5 separate regions of the Homo sapiens genome follow, and all the other regions are linked to region 4. Evidence: promoter capture Hi-C in 16 types of primary human blood cells and fetal thymus (Javierre and others, 2016). All regions are on one chromosome and are shown on one strand. Each heading gives the region's core, a stretch centred on a gene start or on the middle of the fragment in contact. The rest is flanking DNA. Distances are from core to core; before and after follow the strand shown. Region 1 overlaps ERBB2 (erb-b2 receptor tyrosine kinase 2). Region 2 overlaps IKZF3 (IKAROS family zinc finger 3). Region 3 overlaps IKZF3 (IKAROS family zinc finger 3). Region 4 holds the start of GSDMA (gasdermin A). Region 5 overlaps RAPGEFL1 (Rap guanine nucleotide exchange factor like 1).

The links. The method cuts DNA at HindIII sites, captures the fragments that hold promoters and counts their contacts. A CHiCAGO score of 5 or more calls a contact.
Region 1: a contact is called between a fragment that was not itself captured here and the fragment with the promoter of GSDMA in region 4, in 1 of 17 cell types (activated CD4 T cells). The highest score is 5.8, in activated CD4 T cells.
Region 2: a fragment that was not itself captured here is called in contact with the fragment with the promoter of GSDMA in region 4 in 1 of 17 cell types (activated CD4 T cells); the score reaches 6.8 in activated CD4 T cells.
Region 3: a contact is called between a fragment that was not itself captured here and the fragment with the promoter of GSDMA in region 4, in 7 of 17 cell types (activated CD4 T cells, naive CD4 T cells, total CD4 T cells and 4 more). The highest score is 7.5, in activated CD4 T cells.
Region 5: a fragment that was not itself captured here is called in contact with the fragment with the promoter of GSDMA in region 4 in 1 of 17 cell types (endothelial precursors); the score reaches 5.4 in endothelial precursors.

Annotation. Positions count from the first base shown.
Region 1 is chr17:39,714,900-39,717,713 of GRCh38, reverse strand. ERBB2 (erb-b2 receptor tyrosine kinase 2) reads right to left here. Exons shown (of 27, transcript NM_004448.4): 10 at 2,355-2,428; 11 at 2,178-2,268; 12 at 1,775-1,974; 13 at 1,281-1,413; 14 at 1,109-1,199; 15 at 234-394. Among named protein-coding and RNA genes, the nearest start is that of MIR4728, 10 kb to the left of the region's middle. The HindIII fragment of the contact is 1,530 bases long and covers 587-2,116 here.
Region 2 is chr17:39,796,651-39,799,350 of GRCh38, reverse strand. The region is part of intron 3 of IKZF3 (IKAROS family zinc finger 3); the gene reads left to right. Among named protein-coding and RNA genes, the nearest start is that of GRB7, 60 kb to the right of the region's middle. The HindIII fragment of the contact is 6,358 bases long and covers 1-2,700 here.
Region 3 is chr17:39,777,455-39,780,178 of GRCh38, reverse strand. IKZF3 (IKAROS family zinc finger 3) reads left to right here. Exons shown (of 8, transcript NM_012481.5): 7 at 2,412-2,528. Among named protein-coding and RNA genes, the nearest start is that of GRB7, 41 kb to the right of the region's middle. RefSeq lists a silencer at 1,565-1,798. The HindIII fragment of the contact is 4,957 bases long and covers 1-2,724 here.
Region 4 is chr17:39,961,734-39,964,433 of GRCh38, reverse strand. GSDMA (gasdermin A) reads right to left here and starts at 1,430. Exons shown (of 12, transcript NM_178171.5): 1 at 1,349-1,430. The HindIII fragment of the contact is 5,749 bases long and covers 1-2,700 here.
Region 5 is chr17:40,189,835-40,192,534 of GRCh38, reverse strand. RAPGEFL1 (Rap guanine nucleotide exchange factor like 1) reads right to left here. Exons shown (of 15, transcript NM_016339.6): 7 at 2,004-2,101; 8 at 1,773-1,895; 9 at 1,041-1,219; 10 at 863-953; 11 at 272-322. Among named protein-coding and RNA genes, the nearest start is that of MIR6867, 2.4 kb to the left of the region's middle. RefSeq lists an enhancer at 794-873 and a silencer at 994-1,053. The HindIII fragment of the contact is 2,203 bases long and covers 194-2,396 here.

The sequences.
Region 1 (2,814 bases), core at 102-2,601, 250 kb after region 4:
CAGACAAAAATAACTAGAGGAAAAATATTTCAAATTATTAACAGTGGGGATAGAACTGCTAGGGCATTAATTTATATTTCATGTTTTAATTTTACAATTTTAACAATGTGTTATTTTTGTCATCAGAAACAAGATATGACAAAGGGAGAGTTGGTCCCCTTTTATAGTAAGAGCCCCAGAAAGACCCCTGAAAGGAAAGTCCTCCTTTCTGCAGAAAAGACCGTTGGACTCACGAGTGGGTGCAGTTGATGGGGCAAGGCTGGCATGCGCCCTCCTCATCTGGAAACTTCCAGATGGGCATGTAGGAGAGGTCAGGTTTCACACCGCTGGGGCAGCGGGCCACGCAGAAGGGAGGGTCCTTATAGTGGGCACAGGCCACACACTGGTCAGCCTCCTGGGGGGGGCAGAAAAGATTTGTGGGGGGCTGGCACTGACACCCCCAGGGCAGTAGGATCAGGCCCTTAGTTGGGTCCCCTTTGTGCTTCCCAAGGCCACCCAGCAGCAATTTTCGCCATGCTCCTGGGACAAACACCCTTGCTCTTCACCCAGTCTCTGTGGCCCCTCCCTCGGGGCCCTCCTCCAAGCTTGATCCTGGGCAGGGACTTGAGCCAGAAAATGGGAGGCACCCAGAGAGGAAAACGCATTACCTAAGGTGTAACAGCGAGTAACAACAGTCACTGCTCTGTAGAAAGCCTTTCCCGTGCTTCACTGTGCCAAGCCCTGTTTAATTTCATTCTTGCCACACCCCAGCAAGGTAGGTATTATTACAATACCCATTTTAGGAATAAAAAACCAAGGTTGGAAGCAGGAGCTGGGTCTGAATCCAGGTAGTCTGACGCCTGAGCCCACAGGGCTCACCACCCTAGCACAGCCACAGTCACAGCCACCAACACAGACCTCCTTAGAACCTTTTCATAGTCTGAAGGGCCCCAGTGTCCCCCAGGCCCCTTTTCTGCCACTCTGTTGCTGTTCAGGTCTGAGCGCTGAGCCCTCTCCAGGGATATTTTACCAGATAGCACACCCTACTGCATCTCGCCATCCTGCCAAGTCCCTGGCAATCCCCCTCGCTGCCCCCCTCCACCCAGCTCTGAGCCCGCCAGCAGCTCACCGGTCCAAAACAGGTCACTGAGCCATTCTGGGGCTGACACTCAGGGTGGCACGGCAAACAGTGCCTGGCATTCACATACTCCCTGGGGAGCCTGAGAGAAGGGACAGTGGTGAGGGGGTCTGAGAGGAGCCCCATGCACCCCTCCAGCCACCCTCTCCTCCGCCCCTCATACCCCTGCAGTACTCGGCATTCCTCCACGCACTCCTGGCCCCGAAGGAACTGGCTGCAGTTGACACACTGGGTGGGCCCTGGACCCCAGCAGTGCCCTCGGGCGCACAGCTGGTGGCAGGCCAGGCCCTCGCCCACTGCAGTGAGGAGGAAGGGACCGCAGGGGACTTTTAGGGGAGGCCCCAGGTCCAAGTGAACCAGGGAACTGGCTGTGGGCATGGCTGTGGGCTGGAGGGGTGGGGACAGGTGGGGCCGATGTAGGGAGAGGAAGAGTTCTGAGATTTCAGAAACAGAGGGGGAGGGAAGGATGCCAAGGCAGGTAGGACCCAGCTAGAGAAGCCATGCCAAGAGGCCAAGCCAGCCAGAGCTGTGCTGAGTCAAGAAGGGTGCACAGAGACGGGCAGTCTGCACAAGTCCAAGAACGCTGCTGCCAGGGCCCCCTGGGCACTGCTGTGTGCTGGCAGATGGGGAGTGCGCACACTGGGCTCCCTGTCTTACCACACTCGTCCTCTGGCCGGTTGGCAGTGTGGAGCAGAGCTTGGTGCGGGTTCCGAAAGAGCTGGTCCCAGGGCACCGTGTGCACGAAGCAGAGGTGGGTGTTATGGTGGATGAGGGCCAGTCCACTGCCCAGTTCCCTCAGTGAGCGCAGCCCCAGCCAGCTGATGCCCAGCCCTTGCAGGGTCAGCGAGTAGGCGCCACTATGGGAGAAAGGTGGGCACCTTACCACGGACCCCTTCCCGGTCAGCAAAGGCTATTCTCATCTTCCTCCATCCCCAGCACACTCTGCAGACTTTCATGGAAAGGTTACTGCTACAGGAGTACTCCCTCAGGCCCAAAGCTTCCCACAGGGACTCCTCCCTGGGACTCCTCCCCATCAGGCCCCCTCTTTCTCAGTGCTCACTTGTGCAGAATTCGTCCCCGGATTACTTGCAGGTTCTGGAAGACGCTGAGGTCAGGCAGGCTGTCCGGCCATGCTGAGATGTATAGGTAACCTGCAGGCAGAGGGTGAGATTAAAGGAGTGGGGACAGGACAAGGACTCCCAGCCCCTGCAGAACAGGATGCAGAGACAGAGCCCACCTGTGATCTCTTCCAGAGTCTCAAACACTTGGAGCTGCTCTGGCTGGAGCGGGGCAGTGTTGGAGGCTGGGTCCCTGGAGGGGTCAGGAGAGGAGTCAGCAGGGCCAGGAACAGGGTGGACATCACTCCCAGCACTGGCCATGCCAGCCACTCCCCACCATGAATGCCTTCACTCAAACCCTTTGCCCATCGAGCCCAGCTGTTCCCATCCTGGGCTTCAAAGCCCAGGCCTTAGTTCGGCAACATCTATCAAAACAGTATTTATATCCTTTGATCTAGAAATCTTATTTCTGCCTGGGCTCAGTGGCTCACGCCTGTAATCCCAGCACTTTGGGAGGCCGAGGCGGGCGGATCACGAAGTCAAGAGATGGAGACCATCCTGGCCAACATGGTGAAACCCCATCTCTACTACAAATACAAAAATTAGCTGGGTGTGGTGCCGCGCGCCTATAGTCCCAGT
Region 2 (2,700 bases), core at 35-2,534, 160 kb after region 4:
CATGATTATTCTGGCAATAGGATGCAGTATAACAGAGGTCACATGTACCGTGGGCCAGTTAGGAGGCTAATGCAATGATATATTCATACACCAGGAATTTATGGGATGTCTACTTTATGTAGGGCACTGCATCTAACTCGAGGCAGTGGCTCTCAAACTCCATTGTGCATAAGGTTTATCTGGAGAGCATGGTTTTAAATGAACATTTCCAGTCTCCACCCCCAGATTAGTAGATCTATGGTAGGAGCCCCAAATTTTCTATTTTAAAACCACATAACCTCTGGTCTTACAGATACAGGTTAAGCAGTGTCATAGGGAATACTGAGTTAAACACACACACACACACACACACACGCACACACACACACAATCTGTATAGCTTCTGCCCTCAGCTAGTTTACATATTTATTGGGGAGACTAGGGGAGGTGAGTTCATAAGTAACCCAGGAAGAAGGAGCAGGCTATTTTCCAGCTGGGTTGATCAGAGAAGGCATAGTAGCCAGGAGACAGCATATTAGTTTGACCTTTAAAAATGTGTAGGACAGTGGCCAGGCGCAGTGGCTCATGCCTGTAATCCCAGCACTTTGGGAGGCCGAGGCCGGCGGATCACGAGGTCAGGAGATTGAGACCATCCTGGCTAACACAGTGAAACCCTGTCTCTACTAAAAATACAAAAAATTAGCTGGGTATGGTGGTGGGCGCCTGTAGTCCCAGCTACTCAGGAGGCTGAGCCAAGAGAATGGCATGAACCCGGGAGGCAGAAGTTGCAGTGAGCAGAGATCGCACCACTGCACTCCAGCCTGAGAGACAGAGAAAGACTCCGTCTCAAAAAAAAAAAAAAAATACGTAGGATGTGTAGGACTTGGACCTGTGGCCATATTGGGGAAAGATCTTTTAGGCAGTAGAAATAAGACTACTTAGAAGCTCTTTAGTTAAAGATCTAACTAGTCAAAATTAATATGCCAAAGATAGGTTGGGGCCAGATCCCGAAAGGCCTTTTAAATTATTTGTTTCTGAGTTTGGACTTTATTTTGTTGGCAGTGGAAAATATTGAAGAATTTTGACAGGGCTATGACATGACCAGAGGTAGAATTTAGGAAGAGCAATCTTGTAGCAACAAACAAGACGGGCTGGAAAGGAGAAAGAAGGGAGCCAAAGAGAACAGTGCGGGGGCTACAGCAATAAGTAGATCGTGGGAAAGTCATAGGGTCTGAGAATTAGGTAATGGGCATGCAAAATACAGGAGTGGAGAAACAGATTAGAGATTGGATACACAGATAGAACCACTGAATGATTGAATGTGGGGCCCAATCAGGAGAAAGGAAAGATGACTCTAAGGATTCTAGCCTGAGTAACTGGGAAGATACCTAGGAAGCCTTCAGAAATAGAGGACTAAAGAAAGGGAGAGAGGTTACACCTGGAGTTATATATATGGAAATTAATCATATAAGATGTTAGTCGAAGCCTTAAGAATGAATGAAATTGCCATACAAGAGGGGTGTAGAGGGAAGAAAAAAGAAGGTTAAGGACAGTATTTAGGATGCAGAGGGAAGAAAAGGGGCAAGAAGGAAGCAATCAGAAAGGCAAGGAAAGAAGGTACATTTTCATTGAAGAAATAGGAGTGCAGGGGCCGGGCACGGTGGCTCATGCCTGTAATCCCAACACTTTGGGAGGCCAAGACAGGTGGATCACCTGAAGTCAGGAGTTCGAGACCAGCCTGGCCAACATGGTAAAACCCTGTCTCTACTAAAAATACAGAAATTAGCCAGGTGTGGTGGCACGTGCCTATAGTCCCAGCTACTCGGGAGGCTGAGGCAGGAGAATCGCTTGGACCTGGGAAGCAGAGGTTGCAGTGAGCCGAGATCGCACCACTGTACTCTAGCCTGGGCAACAGAGTGAGACTCTGTCTCAAAAAAAAAAAAAAAGAAAGAAAGAAAAGACATAGGAGTGCAGAAGAACAAGGAATGGTGAGTGGTCAGTAGTGTTGAGGATTACAAAGAAGTTGGAGAGAGTGGCATACAAAAAGGCTCTGAATCTAGGAATCAGGAGATTATGGTTGGTGATATTCAAGGGAGCAGATTAAGTGAATTGTGGAGGCGGAAGCCATATTACAGAGAATTCTGAGTCCTTTTTGAGGCTGTAGAGGCAGTAAGCATAGCTTACCTATGTCTTTTTTTTTTTTTCTTGAGACGGAGTCTCACTTTGTCACCCAAGCTGGAGTGCAGTGGTGGGATCTCAGCTCACTGCAACCTCCACTTCCCAGGTTCAAGCGATTCTCCTGCCTCAGCCTCTTGAGTAGCTGGGACTATAGGCGCACACCACCACGCCTGGCTAATTTTTTTGTATTTTTAGTAGAGATGGGGTTTCACCATGTTAGTCAGGATGGTCTCGATCTCCTGACCTCATGATCCACCCGCCTCGGCCTCCCAAAGTGCTGGAATTACAGGTGTGAGCCACCGCTCCTGGACCACCTGTGTCTTAAATCTGTCTAGAAAGGAATGTTGAGGCCGAGCGCAGTGGCTCACTCCTGTAATCCCAGCAGTTTGGGAGGCCGAGGTGGGTGGATCACGAGGTCAGGAGTTCAAGACCAGCCTGGCCAAGATGGTGAAACCCCGTCTCTACTAAAAAAAAAAAATTAAAAAAATAGCCAGGTGTGGTGGTGGGCACCTGTAATCCCAGCTACTCAGGAGGCTGAGGCAG
Region 3 (2,724 bases), core at 145-2,644, 180 kb after region 4:
ATTGTGGTCTTTGCAGTTACCTTAATAGTTCACCGTAACCTCAAACCCCTGGGCTCAAGGAACCCTCCCACCTCAGTCTCCCAAGTAGCTAGGACTACAGGCGCATGCCAACATGCCCAGCTAATTTTTTAAAATTACTTTTTGTAGGAACAGGATCTTGCTATATTGCCCAGGTTGGTCTCAACTCCTGGCCTCAAGCAATCTTCCTGCCTCAGTCTCCCAAAGCACTGGGATTACAGGGGTGAGCCACTGTGCCAGCCACTACTTGCTTTTTACTCTAATCCCTTAAACTAATTTCAATTTATTCTTCCTTAGACATAATAGAAATGTATGGATAGTTCATTTTAGTTTGGATCTCCCGAAGTGTTTATGAGAAAACAGAGAAAAATGTTTACAGCATCACAATATGTTTGCCCAGGGCAGGTGAGGGCAAACTGTGGCGCTCTAGGCAAGTGCAGCCAGTGGCCTGTTTGTGTACAGGGATTTTTACGTTTTTAAAAGGCCGTGGAACAGAAAAAAAAAAAACAAAAAACAAAGAATATAACATAGAGACTATATGTGTCTGGCAAATTTTTAAAATTTACTGTCTGGCCCTTTACAGACAAAAGTTTGCTGATCCCTGGTTCAGGCTAGCATCATGTGTTAAAATGTCAAGCCTTGTATTTAGAGAAGCTGGTATCTCTTTGAAATTTATTTAATTAATTTATTTATTTTTTGGAGATGGAGTTTTGCTCTTATTGCCCAGGCTGGAGTGCAATGGCTCAATCTCGGCTCACCACAACCTCTGCCTCCTGGGTTCAAGCGATTCTCCGGCCTCAGCCTCCCGAGAGCTAAGATTACAGGCATTCGCCACCACACCCAGCTAATTATTTATATTTTTAGTAGAGATGGGGTTTCTCCATGTTGGTCAGGCTGGTCTTGAACTCCCGACCTCAGGTGATCTGCCCGCCTCGGCCTTGCAAAGTGCTGGGATTATAGACGTGAGCCACCGTGCCTGGCCTTCTTTGAACTTTAGACATAAATTTGGGCACTGCCTGCTGAATTGAGGTAAATTATATTCATTACAGTTTACTATTTTAGTTGATTAGATATTGCCACTATTTATATACTCTTCTAGTAGTTCTCAATTCTGGCTGCATTTTAAAATCATCTGGGGAGCTTTGAAAATATTCTTGCCTAGGCCCCTATACCAGAAATCCTGATTTAATTGATCTGAAGGGGGGCCTGGGCATAGGTATTTCTTACCTGCTATTCAGGTGAGTCTAATGTGCAGCCAGGTCTGAGAACCACAGGCCTACACCACTCACAGGTCTATTTGTGGATGGGCCCACATTCATAGGCAGGTTTTTTTGTGTTTTGTTTGTTTCTTTGTTTTTTGAGACGGAATTTTGCCCTTGTTGCCCAGGCAGGAGTGCAATGGCGCCATCTCGGCTCACTGCAACCTCTGCCTCCCAGGTTCAAGTGATTCTCCTGCCTCAGCCTCCCGAGTAGCTGGGATTACAGGCATGCACCATCACACCAGGCTAATTTTGTATTTTTAGTAGAGACAGGGTTTCTCCAAGTTGGTCAGGCTGGTCTCGAACTCCGACCTCAGGTGATCTGCCCACCTCCACCTCCCAAAGTGCTGGGATTACAGGCATGAGCCACCGCACCCAGCCCATAGGCAGTTTTTATTCACATTTTTATTAGAAATTCAATACAGATGCATTATACAAATTGTTCTTTAATTTCAAGGCAGAAGTGTTGCTTAGGGAAATTTTAATTGAGACTATTTTGAAATGTGAAGAGCATATGAAACAGATAATACAGAGCACAGAGAAACAGAATATGAAAGATAGGAACTGAGAGGAGCGTGCTGAAAAAAAAAAAGAAAAAGAAAAAGAAAGAAACCACTCAGAATTTCAATACACAAATCACTGAGTAGATGTCTTGCTATCTGTGTGAGTGTACCTATTTTCAAAAGTGCTGTTAACATAAACAGAGCAGTAAATCTGGGGCACCATGCTTTTTTTTCAAAGTTGTTAAGAATTATATCAGTCTGCAGGTGTCACACGCAGTTACTCAGAATCAGAAAGAAGGCTGATCGGGGGTTAGATCTCCATCTATCTATCTTTTTGCAACCAACCACGTCCAGGCTGTTTATTTAATACTTCCTCTTGCTAATGAAGGTACTGGTTGGGGATGGGTCGAGCTTTCCCATCTCGGCATAAGACTGCAAGATTTGAATGTGCCCTGGTGTCGGCTTCACTGACCACAGCAGGTACCCCAGGCAAGAATCTGAGCAGTTATAACAGGTAACAACAATAGAGTGTGCATCCAACTTCGGACACTTCTCCTTCCAGTTTATTTCCTTTTCTCCCCATGTACCAATGTGTTCTTTTCTCTCTTCTTTTTACATTTTTCCAAACTAGCAAGTGCGGAGGCAAGACACATCAAAGCAGAGATGGGAAGTGAAAGAGCTCTCGTACTGGACAGATTAGCAAGCAATGTGGCAAAACGAAAAAGCTCAATGCCTCAGAAATTCATTGGTAAGAATACAAACCTTTTTCCTGCTGTTGTTAGCAGATAGTTTGAATGAAATAACATAGGATGCTTGCTACACAAGGCCTTTCCTAGCTTAACCTCTGTTAAAATAATTAGTTTTTCATTGTGTACTTTTATTCTTCATGGTTCATTCTGATAGCTCTGGAAAATAGAATAAAAGATATTAACTAAAGCATCATC
Region 4 (2,700 bases), core at 181-2,680:
CCACGCCTGGCTAATTTTTGTATTTTTAATGGAGACAGGGTTTCACCATGTTGGTCAGGCTGGTCTCGAACTCCTGACCTCAAATGATCCGCCCTCCTTGACCTCCCAAAGTACTGTGATTACAGGTGTGAGCCTCTGTGCCCAGCCAGGATCCAGGCATTTTGATGCTCTTCACCTTTGCCCCCTCTGCTTACAATACCCGCTTCCGGATCTGAAGACTCCCTAGTCCTCCGCTAATGCTCAATTCAGGTCACCTCCTGGAACCTCTTCCCTCAGTCCTCCAGGCAGCTGGTGACTGTATCTGTGTTTCCAAAGCGCTCTTCTGATGCACCTTCCTTTGTTATGATCTGTTCACCTGACCCTATCAGCAACTCGTCTGTGACTTCCCAGAGGGCAGGAAATGGGTCTTAGTCACCTCTGCAGCAGCAAGTACCACACCTGGCACAGAGTTCGAGCTTGGCAAATGTGTGTGGAAAGAACCAATGAATGTGGCCCTGAGAGATGTGCGCTAGGATGAGAGGGCCCTGGAGAATGTGGGGCCCATGGGAACCTGAGAGGCAACATTTTTTTTTTCTTTTTGAGATGGAGTTTCATTCTTGTTGCCCAGGCTGGAGTGCAATGGCATGATCTCGGCTCACTGCAACCTCCATCTCCTGGGTTCAAGTGATTCTCCTGCCTCAGTCTCCCAGGTAGCTGGGATTACAGGCGCCTGCCACCATGCCCAGCTAATTTTTGTGTTTTTAGTAGAGACGGTGTTTCACCATGTTGGCCAGGCTGGTCTTGAACTCCTGACCTCAGGTGATCCGCCCATCTCACCCTCCCAAAGTGCTGGGATTACAGGTGTGAGCCACCGCACCTGACCTGAGGGTCAACATCTTAAGTCTCTGTCTTTGAAGTTTGAGTCCAGGTGCTCTGGCTGGGTGGCCGATCGGCACACCCCAGTTATCCCCGTGGGTGGAAGAGGCCACACCAGCTGGCTTGGAAGCATCCCACATCCACCACAGGCACTTCACAGCAGCAGGGGGGGCAGGAAGCACGGCACAGATGCGTGGGGCTGTTCTGCCAGCTTCAAGGTGCTTTTTTTTTTTCACCCTCATTCCTGGGAGGGCCAGGATGGGGCAGGACAACCTCCTGGTGCTACCTGGGTGCACCTGGGAAGGGCTTGGGCAACAGCAGCCTCCTCTTCACCAGAGAGATGTCCACAGGCCTGCCTCTCCCTTCCCTCCCCAAGGCCTATCGGGATACTTATCCCACTGGACTCTAGGGGAGTTCCATTCCCTTCTTGGTCCACCCATCTTCCTGTGTCCTCAGAGCACCCCTGCCTTCCCTGCTGTCATCAAGTTCTTACCTGGGAGCGGGGCTGGGTCCTATCCAGCAGCTGGGTCTGGGGTGAGGGCCTAGGGCTCACTGGGTCTGTAGGTTGAGAGGATGACCATCCCTTGCCAGGACAGGCTGCTTTATGCAGGGACAGAGGCTTCCGGGGACCCCGCCTGCCCTAGTGACCCCACCCCCCTCCCACTCCACTTCCTGGAGAACAACATCAACCTGTTCCACGTGTGCCCTGGCCTCCTGAGGGCTGAGGGGGTGGATAGGGAGCTGCCAGGCAGGTGCCAGCGTGGGTGGGGGTAGCCAAGGCTGATAGAGAGGTGGCAGCTGGAGGTTGGCTTGTGGATTGAGAGGAGAGGAAGGCAGGTGCCTTTGGGAGGGGTGCAGAGGGAGGCAGTGGGAGTGTGTGTGTGTGTGTGTGTGTGTGTGTGACCAGGGATGGCATCTCTGTTCTGTCATCATCACCGTCATTGGGGAGCATCTCGGATTCATGGTGGGGGTCTGCGGGTGTCCTGGGATAGGGATTCCTGTATGTCCACACATTCCAGTAGAGAGCAGAGCATCTGCAGTGCCGCCCTCCATCCTGGGCTTGTCAGCCTGTGTGTATTGCTGCCTTACTCCATTTGTTTTAGCTACATAGACATAACTCTGATACCGCTAGAAGCAGATGTCTGAGTAGGCAGAGATGGAGTTAGACCAAATGGGTTTGTGTTGTTTAGTGTTCAGCGTCTCTGCTTCTCACAGAATATTGTATACACACATCAGCATATCCGTAGGCAGGGGCACGGCGATATTCATGGAAAAGCCCAGGAGGCTTGTCGTGGGCTTTCAGATGTTGCACCAGAGGTCACTCAGGTCCTCCTCTTAGCTTAAATCTCTGCCTAGAAGGAATTTTAAAGGAATTTCAAATGTTGCCTACATGGTCACATTGCTAGAGGACAGAATAAGGGACTTACAAGCAAGGCCCTTACAGTGTTGGGCCATGTGGCCATGCATATGTGCAGGTATAACCTGACACAGCAGAGCCTTCCTGCTCCCACCTTGAGGCTCTTCTTAGTACCACTCATGGAAAAAGAAACGCAACCCTGAATGCTGTGAAGAGTAAATTCCATCTTTTTTTTTTTTGAGAAGGAGTCTCGCTCTGTCCTCCAGGCTGGAGTGCAGCGGTGCAATCTCAGCTCACTGCAACTTCCACCTCCCGGGTTCAAACAGTTCTCTGCCTCAGCCTCCCGAGTAGCTGGGATTACAGGCATGCACCACCATGCCTGGCTAGTTTTGTATTTTTATTAGAGACGGGGTTTCGCCATGTTGGCCAGGAGGGTCTTGATCTCCTGACCTCATGATCCGCCCGCCTCGGCCTCCCAAAGTGCTGGG
Region 5 (2,700 bases), core at 46-2,545, 230 kb before region 4:
CCTCACCCCCTGCCTTGTATACATTCCTGATCAGATAGGGGTGCTGGGGGCTTTCTAATGGTGTGGTGGGGAGGGACCTGACTACTCCCCCTTTCCTTCAAGAAAAACAGGGGCGCAATCCTTCCAACCTCACCCTCCAGCATGGTAAGGAGGGTGGGGGGTCCCATACACTAAACACCTTGAAAGGAAAGCTTGAGGAAGGGGGTTTATGGGAACAGAGGGTTTCTGGGCTCTCAGTCCAAGAGCAGAAGAAAGAGCCAAACCCACTCACCGTCAGGTTCTCAAATTTGCGAAACAAGTTCTTGAATTTCCCTGGCAGCTTCTGCAGAGTTTGAAGGAAGGAGAAGGGATATCAGAGTGGAGCTCCTTGGGTTACATGGGAGCCTCGGATTAATTCTCCCTGTTGGAGGGCAAAAGGGCCTGCATGGCTTGTAGGGGGCTGGGAAGCTGGTGGGTGGGGAAATGAAGTCAGGCCTTGGCTAAGTCTAGAGGCTTGAAACAGCCCAGAGGAATTCATTATTCTGGGGAAGGCCAGGTCTGTCTTATGCAGGTGCTTTGTATAAAGATGCCCCCACTGAGTGTGGATGAAAATCAGCCCAACTCCCACAGCCAAGTCTGCGACCTGACCTGGCCAAGGGCTGCCTGCCGTGACTCAGGCGGGATCCGGGCTTTTCACTAATTTGCACAAAGACAGGGTCCATTAGCCAAGCTGTGCGCCCTGGGGTTGCGTATGCCAGAAGAGGGCGCCTCCCTCCAACTGGCGCAAAGACTCCCTCCAGGCCGGCGGCCGTCCCGGGAGGACGCACTTCGGGGAGCCCGGGATGCCCAGATTCCCAGGTAGGAACGGGAGGGGTCTCATCACCTCCCAGGTGAGTCGAAGGCGGCTGACAGCGGCGTTGTCCAGCCCCATGACCACGGCGTAGAAAGACAGCAGGTCCTGGTTCTGCTTGCAGCTGCGGGGGTGGGAGGCGGGGTCAGGGGCGGGCGGCGGCGCGGGCCTCCGGCCTCCGGCCCCCCATCCCGCCGACGGCCGCACTCACAGGGCCGCGATCTTGATGAACTTCTTGAGCAGCTGCGCGCGCTTGCCCGGGGCCTCGCAGAGCAGCACTTCGGTGGCCACCCAGTGCGTGACCTCGCTGCAGCGCTGCAGCAGCAGCTCCAAGTTGGCCGTCTCCCGGCGGCCGCGCTCCCCGTGGAACACGTAGTCCACGAACTCCAGCTGCACCCACGGCAGCGGAGGGGCGGCCAGGGCGCCAGGGGGTGAGGGGAGTGGGTGGGAAGATGGCAGTGCAAGGCGATGAGGAGCGAAAGGCAGGAGGGCGGGGGCGGAAGGGGTGGAAAATAGAAAAATAGAAAGGACAGGAGGCGGCAAAGATGCGGAAAAAGAAAACAACCAGCATTAATAATATTTCACCAGCTACTGAGCACTTACTAGGTGCCAGGCATTCGCTCACGGCTGACATCCTCAAGACAACCATCTGCTAGGCATTATTGTCTCTGCCTTATTTTATTTCTTTAATAGTGAATATTTTAAAAATAGAAATCCTGGGTCAGGTTCTGTGTAAACAGCACTTGGGCCCTGAGCCACTGTGCTCTGGGGTCTCTCTCTTTGCGATTTTTTTCAGATGGGGGAACAAAGGTTACGGCCATGCGTTGCCCAAGGGCTTGCTGCAAGTGAGCCTTGGAACCAGGACGTTGTGCTGCGAACACCGTCTCCCAATGGCACATTTCTCCCTCCAGCCCCCCAGCATAGCACCAGCCTCGGTCCCCACCTCATGCACACATCGGAACAGCTCCCAGTGGAAGGCAGTTAGGTGGTTGGCAACGTCCTCAGGCTCCACTCGGTGGATCTCTGTGTCTCCAGGGGAGACCTGGATCTCCTCGGGGAGGGGCACCTGGTGGCAGGCAGGGGCATAGGGGCTGGGCTCCTGGTGGCAGGGTGAGGGATTGCTCACAGCCCTCCTCAGCCCTCCATTCCAGTCAAGGCCTTGGGAAGTTCTTACCAGAGCCTCATAGCTGTCCCGAGTACAGGCAAACAGGTGGCTGTTGATGCCCAGTGCGGTGAAAACACAGTCCTCAGTGGGCTGGAGAAGGACCTTCTCTGCAGGAGAAAGAGCTGCTCATCCTCGGCCCCTGCCGCCTGCACCCTCACACATCCCACACTGACACTGTCCTATCCAAAAACTCCTCACCCCACACTGACACATTCTAGACTAATGGAACTCATCTTATCACTAGTTTATGCCATATTTATCTGGAATTTGTCAAATGATTATTTCTTTTGCATTTATAACTTTTTTTCTACTCCCTTTCTTTCACAGCTTTTCTCTTACTCTGTTGTCCTTGTGACACTGGGAAGGCTGAAATTTTTTCCTACTGTAGAGGAAAACAAAGCTTCAGTGACATTGCTGGCTTTCTGCCTTCCCACTCATCCTGTGTCTTTAGCCTGTGAAATGTGGCATCCTTACATACACAGGGAGGTTAAAGGATCAGAATACAATCCATAGGTGAGTGAGGGGCAGCACTCAGATCAGAACCTGAGTCCTAGACCAGTGCCTCCCAAACTTTTTTTTTTTTTTTGAGACGGAGTTTCGCTCTTGTTGCCCAGACTGGAGCACAGTGTCTTGATCTCGGCACTGCAACCTCCGCCTCCGCGGTTCAAGTGATTCTCCTGCCTCAGCCTCCCAAGTAGCTGGGATT